Regions from separate parts of the Homo sapiens genome. Here region 1 is linked to region 2. The links are contacts of gene promoters, found by promoter capture Hi-C in blood cells and fetal thymus (Javierre and others, 2016). All regions are on one chromosome and are shown on one strand. The core of a region is centred on a gene start or on the middle of the fragment in contact, and the rest is flanking DNA. Distances in the headings are between cores, read along the strand shown.

Region 1 (6,994 bases), core at 1,467-3,966, 380 kb after region 2:
CAAATAAAGTCAAGTGAATAGGATTCCTCTTTTTAAAAGAAAAGCACACTGGTATGTTTAGTATTTGAAACATGATTAGAGGTTCCTATCTCTACAGCACAGCTTACCTCAAGGAAGTTTACCTAGAGCGACTCCCCAGATGATGGTTTTGGGTTTATTCAGCAGGTGATGCCCCATGCAGAGAGCAATACTGAGTTATTCTAGAGAACAGCCTCCTACAAATGTATTTCTAGTGTTTATTTATATTGGAGCTCCCTTAGACATAGAATAAATTTTTCATGAGACCAAAGATGACCAATAAACACAGAAAAGCTCAGTATCAAATCAAACAATAACTCCCATGCTGGTTTAGATGGTATTGTCTCTCCTTCAATAGTAAGTCTGCGTGTGTGGTTTGATAAATCACAGACAACAGTATGCTTAACCATTCCAGATCCTCTCCTTTTTTCTCTGCACTAACAAACACTCTGAAGACAATGATTTTAAAGCATTTCAGAAGCACGCTTAAAACAATAAGGAAGGCACAGAAAATGTGAGATTTCTTTCCCTGATTTCCGGTTGATTGACCGCAATAGCACTGCTGACTTATTGAAAATGATATGAAAATCAAAAGGATAATTAGAGCTTATTTCTACTCGAAGCAGCAGCCTGAAATTTCCGTTGAATTTACACAAATTGGAGAAAAATCAGACTTGGCATTATCTCATCCTGAAATTTCTTGCCCATACCATGAGGGTCCATCTTCTTAGCTGGGGCTGGGGAGGTGAAGGAAGGGCTGTGACGTCATGTAGGTTTATTACTGCTGCATTCCACCATTGTTTTTCTTCCCTTTGTTTCATCTTTCTTATGTTTAAATTTATTTTATTTTGTCCTATTATTTTCATCTATGAAAGGAACTTTAAATCCTTTTTAGGATGAAGTGAGAATAAAAATAAATAGGTATATACATTTTGTTCCTGCGGTTTATGATCACCATTACACTTTCATTCTTAACCTCTCTCTAGAATCCTGTGGATCTGTCCAAATGGACAAGACCAATGTCGTCGATTATGAGCCCAGGAACTGGCTGTGACTGCCCCTGTGCTCCTCACTGTGCAGTTTCCCTGCCGAGGTGGAAGGCTGTGTGTGTAGCCAGCTCACCACGTCCCCTGCACAAGGAGCTTCAGCAAGACCATCAGAAGCACAGATTCTTCATCTGTATGTTACTTCTTCGGGGCTACCATAACCAATTACCACATACCCAGTGACTTATAACAATAGAAATTTATTCTGTCACAGTTCCGGAAGCCAGAAGTCTAAAACGAAGGTGTTCTCAGGGTCATGCTCTCTCTAAAGCCTCTGGGAGAGGATCCTTCCTGGCCTCCTCTAGCTTCTGGAAATGCCAGCAATTCTTGGCCTTCCTTAACCTGCAGATGCATCACTCCCATCTCCGCCTTCACCATCACATGGCCTTCTCTTCTATGTCTCTGTCTTCACGTGATGTTTTCTCTCTGTGTCTGTATCCCACTACCTTCTTCTTAGAAGGACATTTATCCTTGGATTAGGGTCCACCCTAATCCAGTATGACCTCATCTTAACTGGATTACACCTGCAAAGACCCTACTTCCAAATAAGGTCACATTCTGAGGTACCAGGTAGGCATGAATTTTGGGGGAACTCTACTTACCTGGAGTAACAGTACCTATCTTAGCTGTGGTGACACATACGTAGTACTCTGAGTGCCACATCCTGAGCATGAATGTAATGATAGCTCTTATTAAAAACAAACTATACTTTGACTTCTCATAACTTTGTCCACAGTAATGATTTTTCCATCAGGAGTACAAACTCAAAGTGTCTTTTGTTGTTGTTTTTATTTGCGTGCGTTTCTTTTTAAAGAAATCTCTGGTTTATTTTGGATATTTTGTTTTGTTTTTATTTTCCAAAACAAAAAAGATCAAGGTGTTGTGTTTACATATACTAAGCAGGATACTTCTTTACGGAAGACAGGGAGCTTCATTACATACTTTGACACTCCCAGTGGAAAGGTGGGTTGGGTGGATGTGCGATACAGAGAGGTTAGGTTACCAGATGCCTGCTAGATGCTAGAAGTATCTCCTTTGGGACTTAGCAGTTCTTAAGTCTGAATGGCGTGGGCCCTTCTCGGAATTCCATCCACATGCACCTTCTTCTCACTTGCTTTCCTTTTGCTTCTGGGCACCATGGGTAGTACCCTTTTATTCTCCCTCCCCATCCGTTAATCCAGAGAAGCTTGCAAAAGCCTAAAGCATAAGATGCAGCAAAGCTAACATGAAGAGACATGTCAGATACAATTCAGAGCAACACCAACTAATTATTAGACTCCAGCAGATTCAAAACAGAACCTCCACTGAGAGAGAGAAATAAGATTATTCTATCCATTTGATGTTCTTGTTAACCTAATAGCCTTTCTTACCATCACTCATGCTCCAGAGAATTTTGGCGTGGAATGAATCTTGGATGTTACACTCTTGCCTCATTTAAAGAGAACCAGCTCTAGCTTTACCAGGGTTTACAAACAATTATAGTTTTAAACTATTTTAAAGTCGGTGTTTTCCACCATTAGGTGTTTACAGAATTTCCTCGGCCAGGATAAAGTCCCACTGCATTCAATACACACCAATGTGTGTCCATTCTCACACCCTGGAAGTCATTTCAGAGCACGTAGACGGCATGTGTGTGCTGGTATGTGTTGCCAGTGTGTCTATGAGATGCACAGGCCATGCAGAAGACATCTGTAAACACAGTCTGTTTTCCCACCACATTCTTGCTCTCTGAGTCAGCGGCACACATATGGCAGGAAGAACTGGAACATTCTTCTTTTAAGGGGTAAATTTGGAACCAAGAGTTGATGTTTCTCCATCTGTGTGGCAGTGGAAGACATTTAAAATAAATACAAGCTCTTGTAATCTAAGCCAGAACCAGGGAGGAACAGGATAATGCGGAGACTTATAACTAAGAAGTGGTAAAAATCAGAGTTCTGTTAAGAACAGAAATAGTCTTTCTTCATATGAGAGAAGGCCATGTATCTCTAACAGAAAGAAGTCCTCACTTCAGCTAGAGGTACCACCTTGTAAATAAACCAGCATGAATCAGCCTCTTGCCCCTGGCTGATGAGAACAGGAAACAATTGGAATATTTCACCCTAAAGTTAAGGAAGCTTCTGCCTCAGGTCCCTGCACCTGCTCAGAGTCTCATGAGGGCTGTGAGGTGCTAGGAAGTGTGAAGCATTCTAGGTGGTAAGGAGAAGCCAGGTGGCAATCAGAGAGCATTTTGATGTAAGCATTTTGGTAAATTGCTTTAAAAAGATCTAAAGAATTGCTGGGCCACCAAGACTCTAGTAATTAATTGAGAATTCTTTTATCGTTCAATCATTTACCTAATTTTTAATTCATAATTTTGTCTTCTTTTTCTAGAACAAAGAGGGAGCCTCAAAACTGTATATACTCCTGACCACACAAAAGCTGGATATGCCCTTGGCTCTCTCAGGGAGGCAGAGCCCCACCCCTCTTTCTGGAATTAGCACTGATTTAGGAGAGGCAAACAACCATGGCTGGAGGTAGGCAGGCCAGTGGACTTTCTCCTACTGTTGAATATAGTTGAGTTTCCCAGGTGAGGGTTTGAAGTATTTGACTGCAGGCCGTATAAAAAGATATGTGTAAAGAAGGTGGTGATTGAGGAGAGAGGACATTCACCCAGTAGACTCTTCTTCAAAGCCCTAAAACTATAGGCCCACTCCCTGCATGACCAAGAATTAAGTAAAACTATTCCTTTCACAGGCATTAGAGCTCTAAATAATCCTTCATGAAGAAGCTGTGAGTGTTCCCCATAGTACTTGTGGCCGAGGCAGGAGGTCCTCAGAAAGGGATGGTCATGAATCCTAAACTAGTGTGGGGATTCAGGGAATGTGGGGCTAGGAATAGATGAAAAATGAATTCCTAAACAGATTTATAATTGGTTTTTGGTCACAGCAAGAGCCTTTCATGGCTCCTGTAGCTAAGAAAATACCCAAGAAAGAGAAACACAAAGAATTAATTCCCTATCCTCCATCCTCCCAAATGTTAACAATAAACACTCCTTTTGAGATTAAAAATATGGGCTGTGCCACACCCACGTTGCATTTATATTATTGGAGGACATTCCCTGCTGGCTTCATGCCAAGGAAAATGACTGCAAAACACACCTAAACTTTCAATTACAACCCAGGTGGTGATGATGAGGAGCTCTTGTAGGAGACAAAATGAGTGAGCTTTGCTCTGAAACATGCCTATAAAGATTGGGGCTGCTTATTGTCAAAGTAAATTTCTTCTAACAATGGGCCTTTATAAATGTATACGCCAGTTCTCTAGGAGTATAGTAGTACCTAGAGGCAGGGATGTGGATTACATTGGGAGCCCAAACATTTTGATGAGAAAAAAAGTTACATTATTTAAAGCTTTTGGACCTTTCAGGGAAAAGAAGTTGTATAATGATGCTAAAGACTCAGTCTGGAAAGAGAGAGGAAGGAAGCAAGAGAACCAGAGAGATGGACTGGGAGGTCAAAGCACTTAGAAAATGTGTTATATTATTAGATTCTTGATGGCAATGACCTTTGTTTATTCATCTACCTATGCCCTATAAAACTTATTACAATGTTCTACACATAGTAGAAACTTAGTCAACATTTGGTGAATGAGTAAATGAAGTTTAACAAATCAGGCATAACTATATAGTAGGTACCAATAGTAGGTACCAATGAATTAGGTCAGTAGTTTTCAGAATAAGCTGGAGAGCTTTTAAAAAAAGATGATGTCCCACCCACACCAATTAAATCTGGGATTTTGGGGTTTGGGACACAGATATACATATTTTTCAAAAGTTCTTTAGGTGATTCTGCTAAATAGAGAGTAGTGAAAACTACTAAATTGGGTGCTAGGCCAAGTTCCCTTCTAAGATCAAGATTCTGCGGCCTCTAAAACATTGTCAGGCTCCTTGGATAATATGCCAGTACCAGGTATAAAACTTCTTTGACTGTAGCCAGGATCAGCTATATAATTTGTGGGCTCAGTGCAAATAAAAATGCAAGACTCCTTATTCAAAAATTATTAAAAATTTAAAATTATTAAGAATTTCAAGATAGCAACAGCAGAGCACTAAATCAAGTGTAGGCTTCTTATAAGCATGGGTTTTGTATGACTGAACTGGACTCACACACAAAGCCAGCCCTGTCTATAGCATCCAGTCCTACGAAGTCACTACCTCGTAATCTCTATTTGCATCACTACTACAACTCTTTGTTCATGTATTATCAGAGAGATCACTCTTGGACACTCTTTCCTGCTCCATGAAATTTTAAGAAATAAAAGATATTGAAGATAATCTGGCAGATTTGATTCAATACACACCAATGTGTGTCCATTCTCACATCCCGGAAGCCATTTCAGTGCACTTACATCCAAGGAATGAATTTCTTTCAAGTTGCCTCTGTTACAGAATAAATAAGATAAATAACCTACTGATTTCGATTTCCCTGGACCTCATTTTCTTCATCTGTATATGAAGACACAATTGCTCGCTGCATCCTGTTGCTATGAGAATTGAGATGTGTGACACAGGTGTGTTTTTCCATGGTCCACCGTGGTTGCTGTGAACCAGTTTTAGGGCTAAATTTAGTATTTATTGATTTCTACAAAATGTAGCCAAAGCCACAGTTCATTAACAAAGAAATATATATTTTGCAGAAATTATATGGGGAGATGGGGGGAAAAATGATTTTATATTGTAGACCCACAGCAGAAACATCATCAAATTCCCATCAAGTATCTCTGTTGTTCCCTCAGAATTTCTCTCCTCTGGCAGCTACCCCGTCTCACATTGTTTTCTTCCCTAAATTAATCTCCCTAAAAATCTTCCTCACCCTTCTTTGATTATTTTGAAATATTGAGTTATCTCTTCAGTTTACAAATAAAATTCAGCAAAATAAAAGCTTGTTGGTCAACTGAGCCACGATCATCTACTCTGCCTCGAACATGTTCTGTGAGCATCTCACCCACCACACCCAATCCAAGAGGCATCTCGAAATATCACCTCCACCAGGAAGATAGTACAGATTTGGAAAAGTCTTCTGCCAGGAAAATAAGATTTCCTCCATATAACTATATAGGTAAAATAACTGGTTCACAGTAAATGTTAATTCCCTTCTTCCTCTCACCTTTTTCACTGTTTCTGTCTGAACACTTCCAGTTATGAGAGAATTTCACTCACAAGGTAAATTCATTCTATTTATCAACAACTCTACTTGTTGAAAATGCCTTCTTATGTTGACTCAAAATCCACTTCCCTATAACTTCTGTCTAATATATGCCATCCCCTCTAGGACAAGTTAGTACAAGCTTCATTCTTTCCCAAGATGACAGCTTCTTCCTTCCCAGGTTTCTCCCAGTTATTCACTGCTCTTCCTGTGACAGACTTCGCAAATTCTGGACTGTACTGGCTTCCTTCTATTGAATAGGCTCCAACTTTTCTTTATACCAAACTAAATACAATATCCTAATGTGGTCTTTGATGTAGTCTAAACTGCCAAAGGATAATTTCTTCTCTAGTTCTGGACACACTCTGATTTAATCAAAGCCTCTCAATTTTCTCAGCTCTTAGGGAAGCCCTCTCAGGAGGCTCTTTGGAATAGCATGAGGTAGAACTGAAGCAATGGTGTGAAGCCTTGTGACTTAATACTAATCATGCTGAAGGTGGCCACCAAAAATTTCACAAGTCAGGGATGGAAAGATGGGTAGAACTCAGAGCAAAGTCATCAGTAGCATTAATTGAAGTTTCAACATCCCAAGTGACAGGATCCTTACTCTAGTTGAACCCAGGGAATAAATATTACTCAGTAACAGCTTGTTTGCTCTTATGTCTTCAGTGATTCAACAAATCAAATACTTAGTGTCTCTCGGGCACTGTGTTGACATGGTCCCATTCTCAAGCAAGTTAGAGCCTA
Region 2 (7,386 bases), core at 295-2,794:
GTGTCTCCATCTCAAAAATAAAAAAATAAAAAAAATAAATAAAAATAGATGGGGGATACTGAGCTGGAAAATCCTTACTATGACTGTAGTGTGTTTTGTCTACTCCCAAGCAGACAAAATCATAAATTCAAAACCAAGGTGCCATCATTATAGATATTTTCTAATTATAATTATACATCATCCAAAAAGGTAGTAGCGTTGTTGTTAATGGTAGCTGGAAATAAGAAAATGGGATACCATATCTAAAATAGGGTGTGTTAACTTCAAAGTGAGTCTTTTCCTTCCCCCGTAAGTGGGAGTGATTTGCTACAGTGAAAAATCAATGGGCCTTAGAGTCAGGGTTAAAGTCTCAACTCCACAAGCTATCTCCACTCCTCAATCATGAGCAGTTTACGCAACTCCAAGGACAGACAAGCTTGGGCAGACAGCATGCAATAAACAATGTATAGAAGTGAAAACTTACTTTAAGCTTCCAGGGTTTGTTTTTTGGTTTGTTCATGTTTTCTGTCTTGCTTTTATTTTTATTTTTTTTGCAACAAACACATTAGTTACGTTCTCTAGGTCTATTTCCTTACCCAGAGGAGGAAGGCCCCTTAGCACATGATCTCTGCGGTCTCCATTAGTTTCAACATCTTGTGGCGCTGATCACCTGTAAGTTAAGGAACAAACTTCACTGGGAAGTCCTGTAGCCTGAATCCAGCCCCAAACATCCACTCCCCCAGCTGAGGAGGCCGGGAGGTACTTTTACCCTGGTAGCATTCTCAATCAACATGTGTCATTACTCAAAGCGCAAGTGGACCAAGGTGCATATACTAATTTTTTCCTCCAAGGTCTTAGTTTTCATTTTACTTTGAAATGTCACTGTGACTACTTTTATTATTACTATTACCAGGAATCTATGATTGCCATCGAGGTCTATTAGAAGGTCATCTCCCATCCCCCACCCCGCCCAGCTTTATCCAGTGCACGAAGGCTGGCTATTTGTAATTCAATATACACTTTCCAAAACCACGAGTTTTACGTTTTATTATTGTTTTTACTTTTGAAGCCGATGTATGGGGGAACACCCACCAGCATTAACGTTGAAAGAGCTGTTTTCATTGAAACCACTCTTTCATCTGTGGATGGTAGGATAATTTATCAGTGTCTTTAATTTGGAATTGAAAAGTTTCCTGAAAACACTGCTAATTAAACTTTACTTCCCTGAAGTTCTCCTAAATACCTCCAACTCCGAGAACTAGCCCAGTATTTGCTCACTTCCTTTTGCCTTTCAACTCCATTTGATATATGTTTCCCACGACGTAGTGGAGACTTCTGGCTGGAGAGGCTGGAAAATATAACTCTGAATTTCCTACAATCTCAGCTCCACTTTCTCCCGCGCGTAGGCCCCCGGCTGGAGCGGTGTTATTGTCACGTGGCCACGGGGACGCCCGCAGCCGAGTCGGCCAATGGGCGCGCGTCGGCCTCTACCCGCCCGCCTTGCTACTCCGCCGCGCGGGGACTTGGCGCAGTGCCGCGGGGTGGAGGCGAAAAAGTTTCTTTTGCAGACAAGAAGGGGCTTCGGCGAGCCGACGCTGCTCAAGCTGCAACTCTGTTGCAGTTGGCAGTTCTTTTCGGTTTCCCTCCTGCTGTTTGGGGGCATGAAAGGGCTTCGCCGCCGGGAGTAAAAGAAGGAATTGACCGGGCAGCGCGAGGGAGGAGCGCGCACGCGACCGCGAGGGCGGGCGTGCACCCTCGGCTGGAAGTTTGTGCCGGGCCCCGAGCGCGCGCCGGCTGGGAGCTTCGGGTAGAGACCTAGGCCGCTGGACCGCGATGAGCGCGCCGAGCCTCCGTGCGCGCGCCGCGGGGTTGGGGCTGCTGCTGTGCGCGGTGCTGGGGCGCGCTGGCCGGTCAGACAGCGGCGGTCGCGGGGAACTCGGGCAGCCCTCTGGGGTAGCCGCCGAGCGCCCATGCCCCACTACCTGCCGCTGCCTCGGGGACCTGCTGGACTGCAGTCGTAAGCGGCTAGCGCGTCTTCCCGAGCCACTCCCGTCCTGGGTCGCTCGGCTGTAAGTATTCTTCCCGCGGGGGGAGGGGGCCCGGGCCGCTGGAGATTCGAGAAAACAGGAGCCGGCGGGGAATGGGGTTCGGCGTGCAGTCCCCTTTTTGCCGTATAGCTCCTTCTGGCCCAGGCCGCGATCGGCGCTCCGTGGGCGTGGAAAAAGAACTGTCCGGGCCTCAGTTTCCCTCCCACGTGCTTTGCGGGCGGCGCAGGTGGGCTCTTGGCGCGTCCTAACTGGCTGCAGGTAGACCAGGGTTGGGGGCCAGTAACGACGCCAGAGATTGGGGATGAAGTCCTGCGCCCTAAGCTAGCCAAGGGGTTCAAATGCTTGCTCCTGCCAGGCCCAGGGGAGATAAGCGGCAACCTGCACACATCAGGAGTTTGCAGTTCTCGCTGAGTTATGAGTCTGGTTCAGTTTTAGTTTCTAGCTGCGTCAGACTCCTTTTCCTGTTCCCACCCAGTAACTGAAGTCAGGCTTTTCATTTGGGAAGCCCCCTCAACAGAATTCGGTCATTCTCCAAGTTATGGTGGACGTACTTCTGTTGTTCTCCCTCTGCTTGCTTTTTCACATTAGCAGACCGTAAGTTCCCACTCCTCAACCAGATTGTAAAGACTGGTCGGTAGCTATGGAAAGGGCGGAACTCGATTATCCAGAATCAAGGGCGTGATTTCTGTAGCTCCTCAGAACGCCCAGACGGTTTAGGGGAGAGCGCAGGGAGCTCTTATGCAAGTTTTTGGATTTTTAGCTGCGAAGTCTGAAAACCTGAAATCACTGCCAACTGCGTGAAGAACAAGGAAGAAAATGTAATTTAGTTGGAAATGCTGATCTTTTCCAAATGTCATCTCTTTTCTTCCTCAGTCCCAGTTTTAAAATTGGAGTGCTGTAAAAAGTAAACAATCAAAATTTGTATTTTTTAAAGTAGTTGTTCTGTTTAAAATAAAAGTGCACTTCATACGTAATCTTATATTTTGACTTAGCAGAATTGCAATGAAAATTTTAAGTTTTTAAAACAATTCTAGTGAACTATTCCAATGCCCTAATGTGGTAGGAGGTTTGGTCAGGTGTTTAAGAATTTATATTTTAAAATTATTGTGCTAATCTAAATAACTTTTGTGAATGTAGAATTGTTGGCCATCAGAAAGTATATTCCTTGTGTTTTTAATAAGCCTTAGTTTAATAAAGTAGAATTAGTATTGGATTGATATTTAATTTCTTGGGACGTTTTATTTAGTAGTTTTTATTGCAATTGGAAGAGGAGATAAGGTCTTTAACCGAAAGCAGGGAGACTTTCAATTAGTTGTGGCTAATTCTGTTAAATTGCCTCTTGTGGAGGTCATGCTGCCTTATTCATGAGTGAATGGCTCTATTGACAACATATGGAACTGAACATGTAAATGACTGGAGGTGAACACTTAGGAATAATAGAGGGATGAGAAAGAGAAAATGAATACAGTGCTTCCTGGAGTGTATTTAGATATGCTTAGATTATTCACGGCATCTAACTTGTATTCGATAGTTTTTCAATGTCAAGTTGTCTATTGTGATCATGCTAGTGTGCAGTACTTTTTTTCTTTTTTCCTGGATTTAGATGTTTAGAAAAAAAATCTGTGTTGCCCTTGATCAGAAGTTGAGTTGAACCAAAAGGGGTTCGATACCTATTTAAACATTGTCTTAAAAGTAGCTGACCTAATTAGGATTTTGTTTTGCAGATAATTTGGTGGCACACTAAAAACAAATTAGAGTTTATTTGGTTAGCACAGTCTTTAATTACATTTCCACCAGCAGTAAATTGTCTCAATACTAGCCCACATTCCTTAAATGTATGTGAAAATAAGTTCCACTTGTATAAATAAGCACTCAGTCTGTTGTCAGGAACCCTGCTGTGATCACTTATTGGACAGCTCTGTCATTCCTGTACTTCTGTGACTTTTAACCATCTTTGTAGGTGTCACCAAACCATGTGGTCTGGATTCTTTATTGTAAATATTTCTTTTGTTTGTACCTAAAGCTCTAGAGGTCTCCTCTTTCCACTTTTGAAAGGAGCAGAAAAACACGTGGAATTGAGTTTTACTTTCTCTGTTATTTGGTATTTTAGAATAGGTGGTCTAAAAAGCTACTAAAGTTTTTCGTAATTAGAAAAATCGTCTTAAGGAGATGATTTCCGAGTTCAGATATAAATAGAAAAATGCATGTTTTTGTTCCCCATATCTTACCTTCCCTTTCCTTGGGTAATCAAAATAGTAGGAGTTTGTCTTTGGACTGGCTTATGAAAGCACTTTTCAGAAAAAGTTCAGTGTCTATCTTTTGTTTCATTTGTTGAATTTGCAAGTTTAAGAAAAATTACGTGTGTATGTATTTTTTCCACTTTATTTGGTTGTGATTTATTACTATAGGAGTCCCATGTGTGAAAAGTCGAATAGTTTGAGCTGTAAAATAATAATACTGTATCAGTACTCCTTTTAGAAAATAACCTCTAATGCTTTAATGAAAGTGGCTCTTAAAGAGTAACTATGTGAGCGAGACTTTGTCTAAAAAAAAACAACCCAGTAACTACGCCAAGCCTTGCTCACAACTGCCATTAAAGGCAAGCTAGAGTTTATGTCAAGAGTTTGCGCTTAAACAGTTCTCAACCTAAAGAGGAATGCTTGTTAGAATGTTATTTAGCCCAGAGACGGAAAAGTTGCTAAATTGCCAATGAGAACTTCCAGTATTATTAAATTCTCACTGGCATTTCAGAATTATTTGTCTTATGTAGAAATGTTTGAGTTCTCAACAGGACCCAGGCGAAAGTCCCAAAGGTAGTTTCTGCTGGTGTGACTTCTTTAGTGTTGACCTGTTATAAATCTTATGGTCCGGACCACAGTTGGGGGTGGGGTGGGGGTAATAGTCCTTATGGTTTTCACAGCTGTTTTTCTGTATTTTCCAGACTAAAACTTGAATATAGCAGGCTGATTTATGAGTCACTTTGGATCAGTGTCTTAAAACAGCTATAGCCTGGCTTTTTGTTTTTCAGCTTTCCAGATTTGTGCTGAATTAGCAGCTCTGCAGGCCCCAGTGGGATTGCTTAAGAAGCTGTGCTGGATTTGCATTTAAAATTTGACTTGGAAGTCAGATTTCCAAATGCTAAAAGGAAGAAAATGACAGCTTGAACCAAATGTTGCAAATTGATTATTTTCATATATATTTATTCATTTGCTAATATTCAGGAAGAGAGAAGTCTGTCTAACCATATAGAAAGAGTTTGACTTTCAAGTGTTGGCCAGCTGAGCTCTGGGTACAGTTAACACTTCCGTACCTTACTACCTTTCCCATTCATTAACCCCACTACAAAAAGTTTTTGTAAAAGTTTTGTGGGGAAGATGCTATTAATGGAACTCTAAACATGAAGAATCTGCCTTTCTTATTGAATGTTTTATGATCTGGGTTTAAGAAAACATCGACGTTGTACAACTTGAATCTGTTTTTAATGGTCTAGCCATAAAAACAATGTAAGGAAGATTTAGGAAAATGTGACATCCCTTAACTGGAAAGTAATCATTTCTCAAATGTAAACTATATTAAATCTAAATTTAGGTACACTAAAAGTTTCATAGCTGTAAGTATTTAGCAGTAAATGTCATTTAAGGGGTGTTTTTTTTCCTCCTACATATAATGTAGTTTTAATAGTACACAAAACTCAAGAATGGAAATGTGTTGCAATAACTGAAATATTCAAAGTTTCAAGCTCCTGCTTCTGGATCAGAAATGAGGGGTCCCCAGCATGTGCACTGGTCTCTGAAGGGAGTTTCTTATTTTTTACAGGTCTTTTGTAGGAGGAATCTTATCCCATTACTAGTTGAAAAAAGTTAAGCACTCCGTCTCATTTCTCTCACAGGATTGCCCTGTGAAATAATCCTTAAAATGAAGTTAATCCTCAGTTTTAGTGTTTTTTTATTTTTAATTAAAAAGAGAATCACCTGTGTTAAATATTAATGCCAGATTGCTTCCCCTTTCTTTTTAAGACCTGAAACAATAGGGGATGCAGTTTTACGCTGGCTCAATGCTCTTTAGTTAAGTGGGTCCAAATGAGACTTTCTGTTGACTCAGGCTACCTCCCAGGTGAAAGACTCTTTTCCTTGGTTGTTTTTTAAACCATGTGGGAAATCTGTGACTGTCTGGGGTGCTAAAAGCACACAGGTTTTGTTTGAATCCTAACGTGAGTTGTTGGGCTCACGGTTTCCTTGATGAACTCCAGATGGACTTGAGCTGGGCTGCAAGGGAAAGTGTCTGGCTCCAGCCAGCGTGGTGAGCATGCACAGCAGTGGTTGTAATTGCAGGATTTTTATAGTTTAAAGACTGTGCCAGATTTTTTTCATGTTATAACTCTACCAGAACAAATCTACTCATGTCTGTCACTGTCTGGTAGGTCTTTGGGCAAACATACTTCAAATAAAACCTTGCAGATTTTTTTTTTTAGGTGAAAAAGAGAATCCAGGTTTATTCTCAAAACAGAAACTCAAAGACTGAAAGGAACTCTGATTTCTAATTGTTAACTAAACACTGAGTAACACTGTGCTTCTCTGGAGGTGATTTCTCTTTATTTATTTTTTAGGAGGGGTGTACTTATGCATATAACAAATAATTCATGCTTTTCTCCAATCAACTTTGGTTATTTAAAAAACTCCGTTTTAAACACCAAAAAAATTAGTATGGGTTGGATAACCCTTTCAGTGGGAAGCTTCAAGCCATACTATTTGTTATCCCGGTTTTTCATCACTCTGGAACCATTTCATTTTTATTACACTATTTTGAAGGCACATAGTCAATGTGTTAACACATATGGGGAATATAACCAAGAATATTTGCTGGAATTTGTTCCATATTTTGAATCTTAAATGAGATGACTTTCTAGCCTAGAGTATTGTATATGTATGAGTTTGTTATTGTTTTTAATAGTAATGATGTTCTATGGAAATTGTTACTAAGTTAAATTGAGTTATTGAGTAAGAAGCACATTTATTTTAATGATTGAAATCTGTTCACAAGTTTTTGTGCAATCTGCTGAACTTTGTTAGATGGCGATGTGGTTTAAATTTTATATTATCAGATATTGATATTTGGGGAATTTAAGAAAGCAGAGGGTTCAGATTGTTTTCTACCCTCTCAACACTCACACACAAAATAATGCTTTAAATGATTTGGTGCTTTAACGCAGAGAAACAAATATGTATGCAAAGCAATTTCTGTTTTCCTTGACTGCAATAAGGACATTGATGCTTAAATGTATGACAATAAAAAGATTTCTATAGAGGCTTTAGTTTCAGCAACCTGCCTAATTAGCTCCTTTTCTTAAACCATGATGTCA

The links. Contacts are between HindIII fragments. The CHiCAGO score rates a contact against its expected background, and 5 or more counts as called.
Region 1: a contact is called between a fragment that was not itself captured here and the fragment with the promoter of LRIG3 in region 2, in 1 of 17 cell types (endothelial precursors). The highest score is 5.3, in endothelial precursors.

What each region holds. Positions count from the first base shown.
Region 1 is chr12:58,533,285-58,540,278 of GRCh38, reverse strand. No RefSeq gene overlaps it. Among named protein-coding and RNA genes, the nearest start is that of LINC02388, 240 kb to the left of the region's middle. The HindIII fragment of the contact is 928 bases long and covers 2,253-3,180 here.
Region 2 is chr12:58,914,662-58,922,047 of GRCh38, reverse strand. It overlaps LRIG3 (leucine rich repeats and immunoglobulin like domains 3), which reads left to right and starts at 1,544. Exons shown (of 19, transcript NM_153377.5): 1 at 1,544-2,048. The coding sequence starts at 1,813. LRIG3-DT (LRIG3 divergent transcript) reads right to left here and starts at 1,344. Exons shown (of 6, transcript NR_183518.1): 1 at 1,258-1,344; 2 at 576-649. RefSeq lists silencers at 660-769, 1,388-1,497, 1,918-1,997 and an enhancer at 2,378-2,647. The HindIII fragment of the contact is 6,290 bases long and covers 472-6,761 here.